4 separate regions of the Homo sapiens genome follow, and all the other regions are linked to region 1. Evidence: promoter capture Hi-C in 16 types of primary human blood cells and fetal thymus (Javierre and others, 2016). All regions are on one chromosome and are shown on one strand. Each heading gives the region's core, a stretch centred on a gene start or on the middle of the fragment in contact. The rest is flanking DNA. Distances are from core to core; before and after follow the strand shown.

Region 1 (3,288 bases), core at 371-2,870:
ATGGCACCTGAGGCAGCAAAGAGGCCGCCGCCTCCGCCGCCCCCCAGCGAAGCTTTGGCTGCTAAGGAACTCGAGGCTGCCGGAGGGGCCAAAGAGGGCCTCGACTTGAAGGTGATTTTACACAGCAGGCTCAGACCGGACTCGGAATCCGCAGGCTGGGCCATTTCGCCTTCGCCCGCATGGGGAGGCGCCCCTCCGCGAGCCCTGCCGGCCGTCTGGCCCTGGTTGCGGGGCCCAGCCTGGCTTTCTGTCGGGGGTGAGGCGGGTGTGGCCAGAGCAGGAGTGATTCTGCGGTCCGCCGGCTGCCGTTCAGAAGGTAATGGTGGTGGCGGCTTCCAAGTCTCCAGGGGCGGCGGAAATTGGGATGGGGCCCTCGGGACAGTGTCCTTCACGGATAGTTGCCGGGGCGGCGGCGGCGGCTTCAGCGGGCGGAGGCTCGGAGGGTCGCCCTGGCCGCGATGGCTCGCCTCCAGCAGGCGGCGGATCCGGGGAACTGGAGTGCCCGCGGGCTTTTGCCATTTAGACGGGCCGGGCAGCAGAGTCCCCGCGGGGGCCGGGGGTGGTGCAGAGACCGCGGCCGCCTCTTCAGGAGGGGGCATCACTGGAGAGGGCCGTTCTAAGGTGAGGGGCAGGGTCGAGGGTGAGGCCTGGGGCTCCCGGGGTACCATGAGTCCCGGGGGTGTGGCGCTGCCAGGGAACCAGACACCCAGCCCACGAGTCAGGCGCATGGCCTGGGAGGTCATCTCGGGCTCCACCAGGGACGTCCGGCGGGAGTCGGGGGCGCGGTCCGAGGGCTGCACTTTTCGGGAGCCCCCGCCCGCGGATGGCTCCGACTGCAAGTTCCCCATTTCTGACGGAGCTCGGAGACTAGTCAGAAAAATTTACTCCAGTCAGCCTGCCAGGGCCGTGGGGACCCTACGAGGCTGGCTGTACTTGATCTAATGCGTCCGCACCGGCCCCGCCCCTGTTCTCCAAGATCCGATCAGGCCCAAGTCCTTAGGTCGCACTCCTGTTCCCCGACCTTCGACACTCACGCCTTCTTGCCCATGTCCCCAACACAGCTGCTGTTAAGATACTTCACTACCAGCCCCATTATGTACTAAGGTTCCATGCCTGTCCCCTTGGCTGGTCATGCTGATCCCTCAGTCCTCTCCTCTAACTCTCCGACTCCCCGCCTCTCTCTAGAGCACCTGGGTCCCGCCCTCTTCCCAGGCAGGGGCAGATCCTCAGGCCTCACCCCTAAACCTCTTCCCGCTCCAGGTCTACTAGCTGGCATCCACAGTCAAGCTCCACCCCTGTCCCCAAGCTCCGCCCTGGCCCCGCCTCCCCCCAGAGGAACCCACTCACCGAGTCCTCCAGCCGAGCAGAGTTCAGACCGCGGCGCCCTGGGCCCGGGGCAGGGCAGGGAACTGCCGTAGCAGAAAATAACCGAAAAGAACGGGGGTGCGGGTGAAGGCAAGTGGGCGAGACAACTAGGGCGGACCCCGAGATGTAGGCCCCGCCCCCGGAGCTCGAGGCCCCGCCCTCCTGCGAGCCCGCGGGAGCCCGGCCCCTTACGAACCTAGGTCTCCCCTTGAAATACTCCGAGGTCTTGTTCCTCGCCCCCAGGCCTTCTGGTTCTAAGCTCCACCCCTTTGGGTTGTTCTCCTTAGCCCCTCCCCTTTAGAATGTCCCGCCCCTCTCATTCCCTCCCGAGGCCCCGCCCACGCGAACACCGATGCGTCGCTCCTCCCCTTTGGACCTCTCATCTGCCCCGCCCCTAAGGCAATTTACCTCTAAGCTCCGCCTTTTTAAGACCCGGCAACATCGCTTCTCAAGACCCTCTCCTTCCCCCCGGGCGCCGAGAAGGCCCATCCACCGTGGGCCCGCCCCTTCGTGACGCACGCACTAGTCCTCGCCTGCAGCATCCAAACCTCCTTATACCCAGGCCCTCCAACCCCACCCACTTGTGAAGGCTCCCCTCTCGCCCCACCCCTTATCGAACTCTGCCAGGCACCCAAGCCACAGCGTAGACCACCACCTCTTTAGAACCTTGAGACCAGTCCCTGTCCCTGCCCCGTCCCCTCCTCATAGCATTAGAGACCAATGGCGCAGATGGGTGGAAAAGTGGGGGATCCCCTCTGGATCTTAAGAAAATGGGGGCTGGGGGGTTGCTCTCTGGAGCTAGTGCCGGGCTCTAGGACCCAGCAGGCAAGTAAGCCCGCCTCGCTCTTACCCCTCCCCCAAGCCGCCCCTTCCCCCCCCACCCGTCTTCCAGGTTCCCCCTCCCTCCCCCCTCGCCCCGGCTCCCGGTGCCCGTCTCCAGCGCCGCCGGAGCCAGCCAGGGAGCCGGAACGAAAAGGAGGAGGAGGAGGCCGCGTCGCCGCCGCTCGGAGCCCGGCCGGAGCCTCGCAGGCAGGTGCCGAGGGGGGCGAGGGGGCGGGGGCTGACAGACTGCCTGCCCCGATGAGGGGGCGGCCGTGACCGCGCTGCGCCTTCTGCCCACCCAGGCGCCCCCAAGGCCCCGGCTAGGAGGACTAGAGAGTGGGGACCCCCCAAACTGCGCGGCAGCCATTCAGGGTACCAGTCTTCATTTGTGGGGTCTGGACTTTCTCCGAGGATGCCCCATTCACAAAATTCCGTCCTGGACCCTCACCGTTGAGGAACGCTGAGGACCACTCCCCCCGGGGGACACAGGATGTGTGGGGAGCGTAGGCCACCCTGAAATGCCAGTGCCCCATTCCAGCTAGGCCCTGGGGGGACCCCTGCTCTCATTCCCTGCTTCACCTGTTGTCGGGGGAGGCGGGCGGACAAAGGAAGCAGCGTCACGTGACTGCTCATTCACAAAATCCCATCCCATTGAGAAAAGGGGGCTGGGGGCGCTGCAGCCGCCCCTTCCCCTCCTGAAGGGCCCGGGAAACCCAGCAGCCTGCAGGTGGGGGAGGGGGCTAGAGCTCGTCCGGGTCCCTAAGGTTGGGACGCCAGGGTCCCTGTGCTGGATGGCAGTGAAGGGCTGGACACTGATCCCGATTACTGGGCGGAGGGCTACGTCCTCTGAGCTGGGGGGCGGGGTAAAATGGTTCTGAAGGATGCTGGGGCTGGGGGGCGGGAAGGGAAGAGGGAGGAAGGATCAATCTGCCCCCCCATCCCATCTTTCCCCCCTGGCTTCCCTCGGCTGGGGCCTGGGGGAGCAGCCTTGATTTTTGTGAATGAAATGCTCTCTGGATGTGTCTTCGGTCGCCCGTTTCTGACTTCCTCTGCCTCCGTCTCCCTCTGAGCCTCTCTTTCTGGCCATTTCTGGTTCTCTCC
Region 2 (3,288 bases), core at 312-2,811, 200 kb after region 1:
GATCTCGGCTCACTGCAACCTCCGCCTCCCGGGTTCAAGCGCTTCTCCTGCCTCAGCCTCCCGAGTAGCTGGGATTACAGGCATGCAACACCATGCCCGGCTAATTTTGTATTTTTAGTAGAGACAGGGTTTCTCCACATTGGTCAGGCTGGTCTCAAACTCCCGACCTCAGGTGATCCACCTGCCTCGGCCTCCCAAAGTGCTGGGATTACAGGCGTGAGCCACCGCGCCCGACCGGTGGGATACTTCTTATTACAAAGAAAAACAGAGGCTGGGTGCGGTGACCCCTGCCTATAAGCCCAGCACTTTGGGAAGCCTACACAGGTGAATCTCTTGAGTCCAGGAGTTCCAGACCAGGCTAAGTAACATGGCGAAACCCTGTCTGTACAAAAAATACGAAAATAAGCCAGGTGTAGTGGTACGCGCCTGTCATCCCAGCTACCCGGGAGGTTGAGGTGGGAGGACTGATTGAACCCAGGAGGTCGAGGCTGCAGTGAGCCATGATCGCGTCACTGCACTCCAGCCAGGGTGACAGAGAGAGAATCTATCTTTAAAAAAAAAGAAAAAGGGAGAAAAAAGCAACTTCACAGTGGAGAGAACTGGCTGATTCTACCTTAACCAAATGACCGAAGTTAATATCACCAGTAATGGGACAAACTAGCATTGTGTACTTCCTGAAATGATGCACTGAGAAAGACATCTTTCTGCAGTATTCCTGCCCAAAATTCAGAACGTGGAAACCTCAAACACAGTTAAGGGACATTTTAGAAAACAAATTTCCTTTAATTTTTAAAAAGGTCAAAGCTCCTTTAAGACAAAAGAAGTTTTAATTATTTTTTCCGGCTTAATTATAAAGAAACATGGCTCCTAAGTGCCACCTATGATCTTGGACCAGAAAAAAAAAAAAAAAAAAAAAATATATATATATATATATATATATATATATATATATATATATAATCACGGGCGTCACTAGGACAACGGGTGAAATTTTTTGTTGTTGTTGTTGTTGTTTTCTGAGACAGAGTCTCGCTCTGTCACCCAGGCTGGAGTGCAGTGGCGTAATCTCGGCTCACTGCAACCTCCACCTCTCCGATTCAAGTGATTCTCCTGCCTCAGCCTCCCAGCTGGGATTACAGGCACGTGCCACCACACCCAGCTAATTTTTGTATTTTTACTAGAGGTGGGGTTTCTCCATGTTGGCCAGGCCCATCTCCAACTCCTGACCTCAGGTAATCTGCCCACTTCAGCCTCCCAAAGTGCTGGGATGACAGGCGTGAGCCACCACACCTGGCCAACTGGTGAAATTGAGTAGGGGTATGAATTAGAAGGTTGTGATGTTTCAGTGTTGTTTTCTTGATTTTGACAGCTGTGCTGTGGTTTGTAACATTATGTCCTTGCTTTGATTCAGGAAACATACACTGAAGTATTTTAGGGGTAAATGGGCATCACGTCTGCAATTCATTCCCAAATATTCATTAAAAAATCACACACACACACACACACACACACACACACACACATATACTTGTATGTGTGGTGTGTGCGCATAAGAAAGAGAAGAGGCCGGGCATGGTGGCACATGCCTGTAATCCCAGCTACTCGGGAGGCTGAGGCAGGAGGAGTGCTTGAACCCAGGAGTGGGAGGTTGTGGTGAGCTGAGATTATGCCATTGCACTCCAGCCTGGGCAACAAGAGCGAAACTCTGTCTCAAGAAAAGAAAAAAAAAAGAATAATAAGGCAAATGCGGTTAAAAAGATTAACATCTGGCCAGGTACAGTGGCTCACGCCTGTAATCCCAGCACTTTGGGAGGCAGAGGTGGGTGGATCACCTGAGGTCAAGAGTTCGAGACCAGCCTAACCACCATGATGAAAGCCCACATCTACTAAAAAAACAAAAAAATTAGCTGGGCGTGGTGGTGTGCAACTGTAGTCCCAGCTACTCAGGAGGTTGAGACAGGAGACTTGCCTGAACCCGGGAGGCAGAGGTTGCAGTGAGTGGAGATCCACTGCACTCCAGCCTGGGCCACACAGCAAGACTCCATCTCAAAAAAAAAAAAAAAAAAAGATCTGGTTAATCTGGATAAAAGGGATTTTTGCAACTTCTCTGGGAGTGTGAGTTTTAAATTATGTCAAAATAGTTAAAATAGTTATTTTTAATAGTTAAAAATTTTTAATAAGATAAAAATCTAAAATAAAAATGCAGCCAGGGCTGGGCACGGTGGCTCATGCCTGTAGTCCCAGCACTTTGGGAGGCCGAGGCGGGCAGATCACCTGAGATCAGGGGTTCAAGAGCAGCCTGGACAACATGGCGAAAGCCTGTCTCTACTAAAAATACAAAAATTAGCCGGGCACAGTGGCACATGCCTGTAATCCCAGTTACTCGGGAGGCTGAGGCAGGAGAATCGCGTGAACCCAGTGGGTGGAGGTTGTGGTGAGCTGAAATCACGCCACCGCATTCCAGGCTGGGCAACAGAGCAAGAATCCGTCTCAAAAAAAAAAAAAAAATGCAGCCAGGTGTGGTGGCTCATGCCAGTAATCCTAACATTTTGGGAGGCCAAGGTAGGAAGATTGCTTGAGGCCAGCAGTTCAAGGACAGCCAGGGCAACATGGCAAGACCCCGTCTCTACAAAAAAATTTTAAAAATTAGCCAGTTGTGGTGGTGTATGCCTGTGGACCTAGCTACTTGGGAGGCTGAGGTGGGAGGATCAGTTGAGCTCAGAAGGTCAAGACTGCAGTGAGCTGTGTGTGTAACACTGCACTTCAGCCTGCGCAACAGAATGAGACCTTGTCTCAAAAATGAAATAAAATTAAGGCCAGGTGCAGTGGCTCACTCCTGTAATCCCAGAACTTTGGGAGGCCAAGGCAGCTGGATCACCTGAGGTCAGTAGTTTGAGACCAGCCTGGCTAACAAGGCGAAACCCCGTCTCTACTAAAAATACAAAAAATAGCCAAATGTGGTGGTACACACCTGTAAACCCAGCTACTTGGGAGGCTGAAGCATGAGAATCACTTGAACCTGGGAGGCAGAGGTTGCAGTGAGCTGAGATTGTGCCACTGCACTCCAGCCTGGGCAACACAGCGAGACTCTGTGTCAAAAATAAATTTTAAAAAAATTTTATAAATAAAAGAATTAAAATTAAAAAATAAAAGGATTGGCCAGGTGCAGTGGCTCATGCCTATAATCCCAGCACTTTGGGAGGCCGAGGCAGGTGGATCACCGAGGTCAGGAGTTCGAGACCAGCCTGGCCAACATGGTGAAATGCCATCTCTACTAAAAAATATAGT
Region 3 (3,288 bases), core at 1-2,500, 160 kb before region 1:
TATCCCTACCTGAACACATGCAGACACACAACACAAATCACACACAGTCACACGGGATTCACACACAAAGAGAGACAAATCCCAATACTCACAAAGGAGAAACAGACAAACCTCACACACGTGCACACATAAATATCTACTGAAAAAGACAAATATCCCAAGTTCCATAGTGTGGAGACAAATCACACAAATAACCATGCACAAAGACACATCACATATCCACAGACACACACCAGAAACACATCACCCACACAAAGACACACAACATGGAAACATCACACCACACACACATACACCCCCTCATGCATCCAAAGACACAAGCATGTCAAAAGACAGGAACTACAGAAACCACTTGCGCCCCTAGGCACTTACCCATGTATCCAAAGACACAACACAAACCACACACACAATATCCAGACACACAACACAAAGAAATCACACAGATTCACACAGGTACACACACACATTTACAAAGATGCACGATGCGCAACCAGTATCTAAAATATCACACATCCACACAGACACACACACATATAAAACACAGAAACAGCCAAATCCACCCATAGTCACACAAAAATTTACACACAAATACACGCAGCCCTACATACCCAAAAACACAGAACACAAGACAAATGACATATAGTTCCAAAGGACACGGACACACACTGGGAGACCCAAATATCCAAAGATATCTAGTGCAGAATAAAAGGAAACAGACACATGTCCACACACCTATCCCCCAAAAATTCTTAAAAAAACCAGAACACAAATAAGTGATACACACACACACTCCACATCCCAAGACAAAGGTAGTGTGGACTTCACTCCAGTTGCCAAGGCCCCCGCACCCCCGGGTCATTTCAGTCTCTCCCAGACCCGAGGGTTGCAGGGAAGGGATGATGTCTCCCTTCCCCAAAAAGAATCTGGAGGCCCCCCACGCCCTCCACCCCGCCAGGGAGCGGTGCATCCGACACCATTCTTGTCAGAGACCCACAGTCACACACTCTCGCACCCCCGCGCAGCCCCGCACTCGGTGACAGCCCCCCAGACACCCCTTCGGCCCCACCCCCGGTCGCCACACACACACAGGCCCGCGTAGACCCGCCCGCGCTTCCTCTCCGCCTCCCGCCGGCCCGCACCACCTCAGGGGGCCAGGGATGACAGTGGCCATCTTGCTCCCCGGGTCCTGCCCCCAGCAGGTCCCCGCCGGGTCGGTCCTCCCAGCGGTCGGGCGGGCGCTGAGGCCGCCCATCCATTCATTCCCGGGGGGCGGGAGCACGAGGGCCACGGCCAATCGCGGCGACGGGGCGGGCCCGCCCGGGCCATGCTGGGAGTGGTAGTCCCAGGCCAGGGGGCCCCCGGGACCCCGCGGGGACGGGACGGCGCGGAGGAGGGGCCCGGGGCACGCACCGTCACTCACCCGCCCTCACTCGTCCACATATCCTGCTCTCGCGTGCACACAACCACATGCACACCTGGACTCGCACACGCCCACGCATGGCAGTTTACACACACATTCACGCGGATACTCACAGCCTCCCACACACTCCTACTCACACACCTTCGCACGGACTCACACAGCCACACGCACACACACTGCAATACTAAGAGACGCAGAGACACCTCCCAGGTGCCCACACAGACTTCTCACCAACATGCTTCCAGCAGACACCCCCTCACCGCCCCCCACCCAAGTCCCTCCTGGCTCCAGAGACCCCACCCGGGGCTGTCTCTCCCAGCAGCCACGCTCACGGTCACCCCGCCCTGCTCAACGCCTTCTGCAGGCCTGACAGCAGCAGTGCAGGTTAGAAACAGTAGTCACACCTCCAGGGTTCAAATCCTAGCTCTGCCACTTGGTGGCCATGTGACCTTGGCAAATGACTTAACCTTTCTGGGCCTCAGTTTCCTCATCTGTAAAAAGAGGATGATGCCTCACTGGAGTGTTGTGAGGATTAAATGAGTAAATATAGGTAAAGCATTTTAAGAGGTGACTGGCAGGCCAGGCGCAGTGGCTCACACCTGTAATCCCGGCACTTTGGGAGGCCCAGGCAGGTGGATCACCTGAGGATGGGAGTTCGAGACCAGCCTGGCCAACATGGTAGTAGTCTCTACTAAAAATACAAAATTAGCCGGGCATGGTGGCGCATGCTTATACTCCCCCACTCAGGAGGCTGAGGCAGGAGAATCACTTGAACTCAGGAGGTGGAGGTTGCAGTGAGCTGAGATCGTGCCATTGCACTCCAGCCTGGGCAACAAGAGTGAGACTCCCTCTCAAAAATAAATAAATAAATAATAAGAAAGAAAGAATAATGCGGCCAGGTGCGATGGCTCCAGTCTGCAATCCCAGTACTTCGGGAGGCCTAGATGAGAGCACTGCTTGAGCCCAGGAGTTTGAGACCAACCTGGGCAACATATCCAGACCCCTGTGTCTACAAAAAAAAATTAAAATTAGCTGGGCATGATGGCGCAGCAGTGTAGTCCCAGCTACTTGCAAGGCTAAAGTGGGAGGATAGCTTGAACCTGGGAGGCTGAGGCTGCAGTGAGCTGTGGTCTCACCACTGCACTCCAGCCTGGGTGGCAGAGCGAGACTCTGTCTCTAAAAGCAAACAAACAAACAAACAAACAAACAAAAAACTAAGTAAGCAGGGCGCCGTGACTCATGCCTGTAATCCCAGCAATCTGGGAGGCTGAGATGAGAGGACCGCTTGAGCTCAGGAGAACAGCCTGGGCAACATAGCGAGACCTGGTCTCTACTAAAAAAAAAATAAATAGCTGGGCATGGTGGCACATGCCTATGGTCCCAGCTACTCAGGAGGCTGAGTCAGGAGGATTGGTTGAACCCAGGAGATCGAAGCTGCAGTGAGCTATGATCACACCACTACACTCCAGCCTGGACAACTGAGCAAGACCCTGTCTCCAAAAAAAAAAAAAAAAATAGATGCTCAGTAGATATTTGTTGAATGAGTAAATGCACCCATCATGTGCTGGGCACAGTTCACCCCGGGATGCTTTTATTATCTGCATTTTCCAGGTGAGGAATCTGAGGCACAGGAAGGTAACCTCACATGCCCGCATGCCCTGGCGGCTCTTTGAAGGTAAGACTGAAGGAAGGAGGCAGGCACCCCTGACGGCCCTCCCCAAGTAGTCCTGACCTCCTTCTCTCTCCCACTGTCACCCACACTGACTCCACCCGAAGAGATCCCCAGGGAGTGAGCAGACCCACTGAGTCACAAACTGACCCAGTCTCTCTGCAACACCACCACCCCGTCCCCCCTCCCGTCTCACCCC
Region 4 (3,288 bases), core at 540-3,039, 150 kb after region 1:
TGCAGTGGTGTGATCACAGCTCGCTGCAACCTCTGCCTCCTGGGCTCAAGTAATCCACCCCTCAGCCTCCCGAGTATCCAGGACTACAGGCATGCATCACCATGTCTGGCTAAGTTTTTTATTTTTTGTAGAGATGAGATCTCACTGTGTTGCCCAGGGGATCTCAAACTCCTGGATTCAAGCAATCCTCCTGCCTTGGCCTCCTAAAATGCTGGGATTACAGGTGTGAGCCACCATACCCAGCCGGGACTAAGATTTTCATTCTTTAATTTTAACTAAGATGGAATCAGTCTTTGGGTTTAAAATAAATTTTATTCCTCAGGAATATGAAGTTTTGAAAATGAGAATGTTGTTATGAAAGGGATTGCTGTCTCCCAACATATTTGCAACCCAGTCCTCGCCTAAATTCATGACCTAATCAAATAGATATTTGAAATATCTTTCAAATCTCAGACCCCTTGCATGTCTTGAGGAGTCAGTGCTATTCAAAGCAGACAAAAGGTTTGTCTCTCACTTATTTGCACATGTCTATAACAGGTGTTGTCAGTTGCCAGAATTTTTTTTACAGGAGCTGTGTATCTTTTATTTTTGCATATAGCCCAATTTAAATTAACACAATTTAATTTAACAATTTAAATTAACACAAATAAAGGAGTTAGAAAGCAGGGTTGATGGGAAAACCTGTACCTTTGCTTATAAAATTTTGAATATTTGAGTATGCTTTGTCTATGTCATGAAACTAGGCAAAATGGGCCTTCTGTTGAGCCAACCTGATAGAGCAATTGTGAACTGACTGTAAAAAAGTTAAGGGGAAAGAAAAACGGGGGGCAAAAATACTTTCAGGGGCTGTTAAAACCTTCCTGTGCAACATGATGTTGCTATAAACATTTAAAAGGACTTGGCTGGGCACTGTGGCTCATGCCTGTAATCCCAGCACTTTAGGAGGCTGAGGCAGGAGGATCACTTGAGCCCAGCAGTTCAAGACAAGTCTGGGCAACATAAGGAGACCCTGTCTCTACCAAAAAAAAAAAAAATCATATACTACAGTATAATAAACCTCCAATCATATACTACAGTATAATAAACCTCCAATCATATACTACAGTATAATAAACCTCCAATCATATACTACAGTATAATAAACCTCCAATCATATACTACAGTATAATAAACCTCCAATCATATACTACAGTATAATAAACCTCCAATCATATACTACAGTGTAATAAACCTCCAATCATATACTACAGTGTAATAAACCTCCAATCATATACTACAGTGTAATAAATCTCCAATCATATACTACAGTGTAATAAACCTCCAATCATATACTACAGTGTAATAAACCTCCAATCATATACTACAGTGTAATAAACCTCCAATCATATACTACAGTGTAATAAACCTCCAATCATATACTACAGTGTAATAAACCTCCAATCATATACTACAGTGTAATAAACCTCCAATCATATACTACAGTGTAATAAACCTCCAATCATATACTAAAGTGTAATAAACCTCCAATCATATACTACAGTGTAATAAACCTCCAATCATATACTACAGTGTAATAAACCTCCAATCATATACTACAGTGTAATAAACCTCCAATCATATACTACAGTGTAATAAACCTCCAATCATATACTACAGTGTAATAAACCTCCAATCATATATTACAGTATAATAAACCCCCAACTACCCATCACTCAGCTTTAACAGTTTGCTTTCACAGAACAATGTTTTTTAAATAGTGGGAACCAACCCATCAGACAGACGTTCATGAATCAGTTTCACGCAGAGGTTCTCATTGTAATTGTACACTGGCATGCCTGGGGAGCTTTAAAAGAGACTTAAGCCCAGGTTTTGCCTTTACAGGTTCTAATTCAATTGATCTGGGGTTGGGCCTGAGCACTGGGGTTTTTAAAAGCCTCCTAGTTGTCCTGATGTGCAGCCAAGGTTGAGAGGATGAGAAGCACACACTTCTTCTTTTGTAGTTAACTAGAGCAGTACAGGACAGAAAAGAACAGAATGCATGGCACAGAGTAAGGCAATGTGAAACTTCTCTTTCGGGAATAGGTGAATATAATTTCAGATTGAACACATGTATCAGGTCTCAATGTAAAAAGGATTTCCTCGGCTGGGTGTGGTGGCTTACACCTGTAATCCCAGCACTTTGGGAGGCCGAGGCAGGTGGATCACAAGGTCAGGAGTTGGAGACCAGCCTGTCCAATATGGTGAAACCCTGTCTCTACTAAAAATGCAAAAAAATTAGCCGGGCGTGGTGGCGCATGCCTGTAATCCCAGCTACTCAGGAGGCTGAGGCAGGAGAATTGCTTGAACCTGGGAGGCAGAGTTTGCAGTGAACTGAGATCATGCCACTGCACTCCAGCCTGGGTGACAGAGCAAGACTGTATCTCAAAAAAAAAAGGATTTCCTACCATAGATTGCAGTCAGAAAAGATTAAAAAATTACTGCACAAGAATATAAACTTCACAAGGGCAGGGGCTGGACATACGGCTCATGTCTGTAATCCCAGCACTATGGGAGGTCAAGGTAGGAGGGTTGCTTGAGGCCAGGAGTTCGAGACCAGCCTGGGCTGGTCTCAACAAAAAAATTAAAAATTGGCCGGATGTGGTGGCTCACACCTATAGTTCCAGCTACCTGGGAGGCTGAGGTGGGAGGACCACTTGAACCCAGGAGGTCAAGGCTGCAGTGAGCTATGATCATGCCACAGTACTCCAACCTAGGCAACAGAGGGAGACCTTGTCAAAAAAAAAAAAAAATCCCCCCCAAGGCCGGGGACTGTTTTTTTTTTTTTTACTACTGTATCCCCAGAGCCTAGAATACTGCATGACACATAGTAAGAACGCAACAAATTTGTTGTAGCAAAGAGGATGTGACAATCTTAATCTCGTGAGGATGTAGTATACACTCAATAAAATATGTTGAATAAATGAACAAGTGACCAATCCATATGTTCCCTGGCCTTTAGTAGGTGCTCAATAAATATTTGTTGGATAAATGCATGAATATCCCCAGCACATAGGAGGAATTTGATAAAATTGTTTGGAAACTAACGAGGAACTGAATCTCTATTTCTCCCTGCTACATAGTTGGTGGTCAATATACAAATTTGTTGGAAAAAACTGAATGAATAAATGACGCTCCACCACATTTGACACATAGCAGGCCCTCAATAATATTTATATTTTATTTTTTTATATTTATTTATTTTTTGAGACGGAGTTTCACTCTTGTTGCCCAAGCTGGAGTGCAGTGGCA

Evidence for each region. Contacts are between HindIII fragments. The CHiCAGO score rates a contact against its expected background, and 5 or more counts as called.
Region 2: a contact is called between a fragment that was not itself captured here and the fragment with the promoter of GGN in region 1, in 2 of 17 cell types (neutrophils and non-activated CD4 T cells). The highest score is 6.2, in neutrophils.
Region 3: a contact is called between the fragment with the promoter of DPF1 here and the fragment with the promoter of GGN in region 1, in 1 of 17 cell types (megakaryocytes). The highest score is 5.6, in megakaryocytes.
Region 4: a contact is called between a fragment that was not itself captured here and the fragment with the promoter of GGN in region 1, in 10 of 17 cell types (monocytes, M2 macrophages, activated CD4 T cells and 7 more). The highest score is 7.7, in monocytes.

Annotation. Positions count from the first base shown.
Region 1 is chr19:38,386,414-38,389,701 of GRCh38, forward strand. GGN (gametogenetin) reads right to left here and starts at 1,621. Exons shown (of 4, transcript NM_152657.4): 1 at 1,562-1,621; 2 at 1,348-1,409; 3 at 1-867. The coding sequence starts at 848. It overlaps SPRED3 (sprouty related EVH1 domain containing 3), which reads left to right and starts at 2,284. Exons shown (of 6, transcript NM_001394336.1): 1 at 2,284-2,394. RefSeq lists silencers at 1,417-1,656, 3,116-3,288. The HindIII fragment of the contact is 15,577 bases long and covers 51-3,288 here.
Region 2 is chr19:38,589,479-38,592,766 of GRCh38, forward strand. All of the region lies in intron 30 of MAP4K1 (mitogen-activated protein kinase kinase kinase kinase 1), which reads right to left. Among named protein-coding and RNA genes, the nearest start is that of MAP4K1-AS1, 5.2 kb to the right of the region's middle. The HindIII fragment of the contact is 6,157 bases long and covers 1-3,288 here.
Region 3 is chr19:38,222,972-38,226,259 of GRCh38, forward strand. It overlaps DPF1 (double PHD fingers 1), which reads right to left and starts at 1,251. Exons shown (of 12, transcript NM_001135155.3): 1 at 1,143-1,251. The coding sequence starts at 1,171. RefSeq lists a silencer at 1,016-1,585. The HindIII fragment of the contact is 14,724 bases long and covers 1-3,288 here.
Region 4 is chr19:38,539,293-38,542,580 of GRCh38, forward strand. The region is part of intron 84 of RYR1 (ryanodine receptor 1); the gene reads left to right. Among named protein-coding and RNA genes, the nearest start is that of MAP4K1-AS1, 55 kb to the right of the region's middle. The HindIII fragment of the contact is 8,158 bases long and covers 1-3,288 here.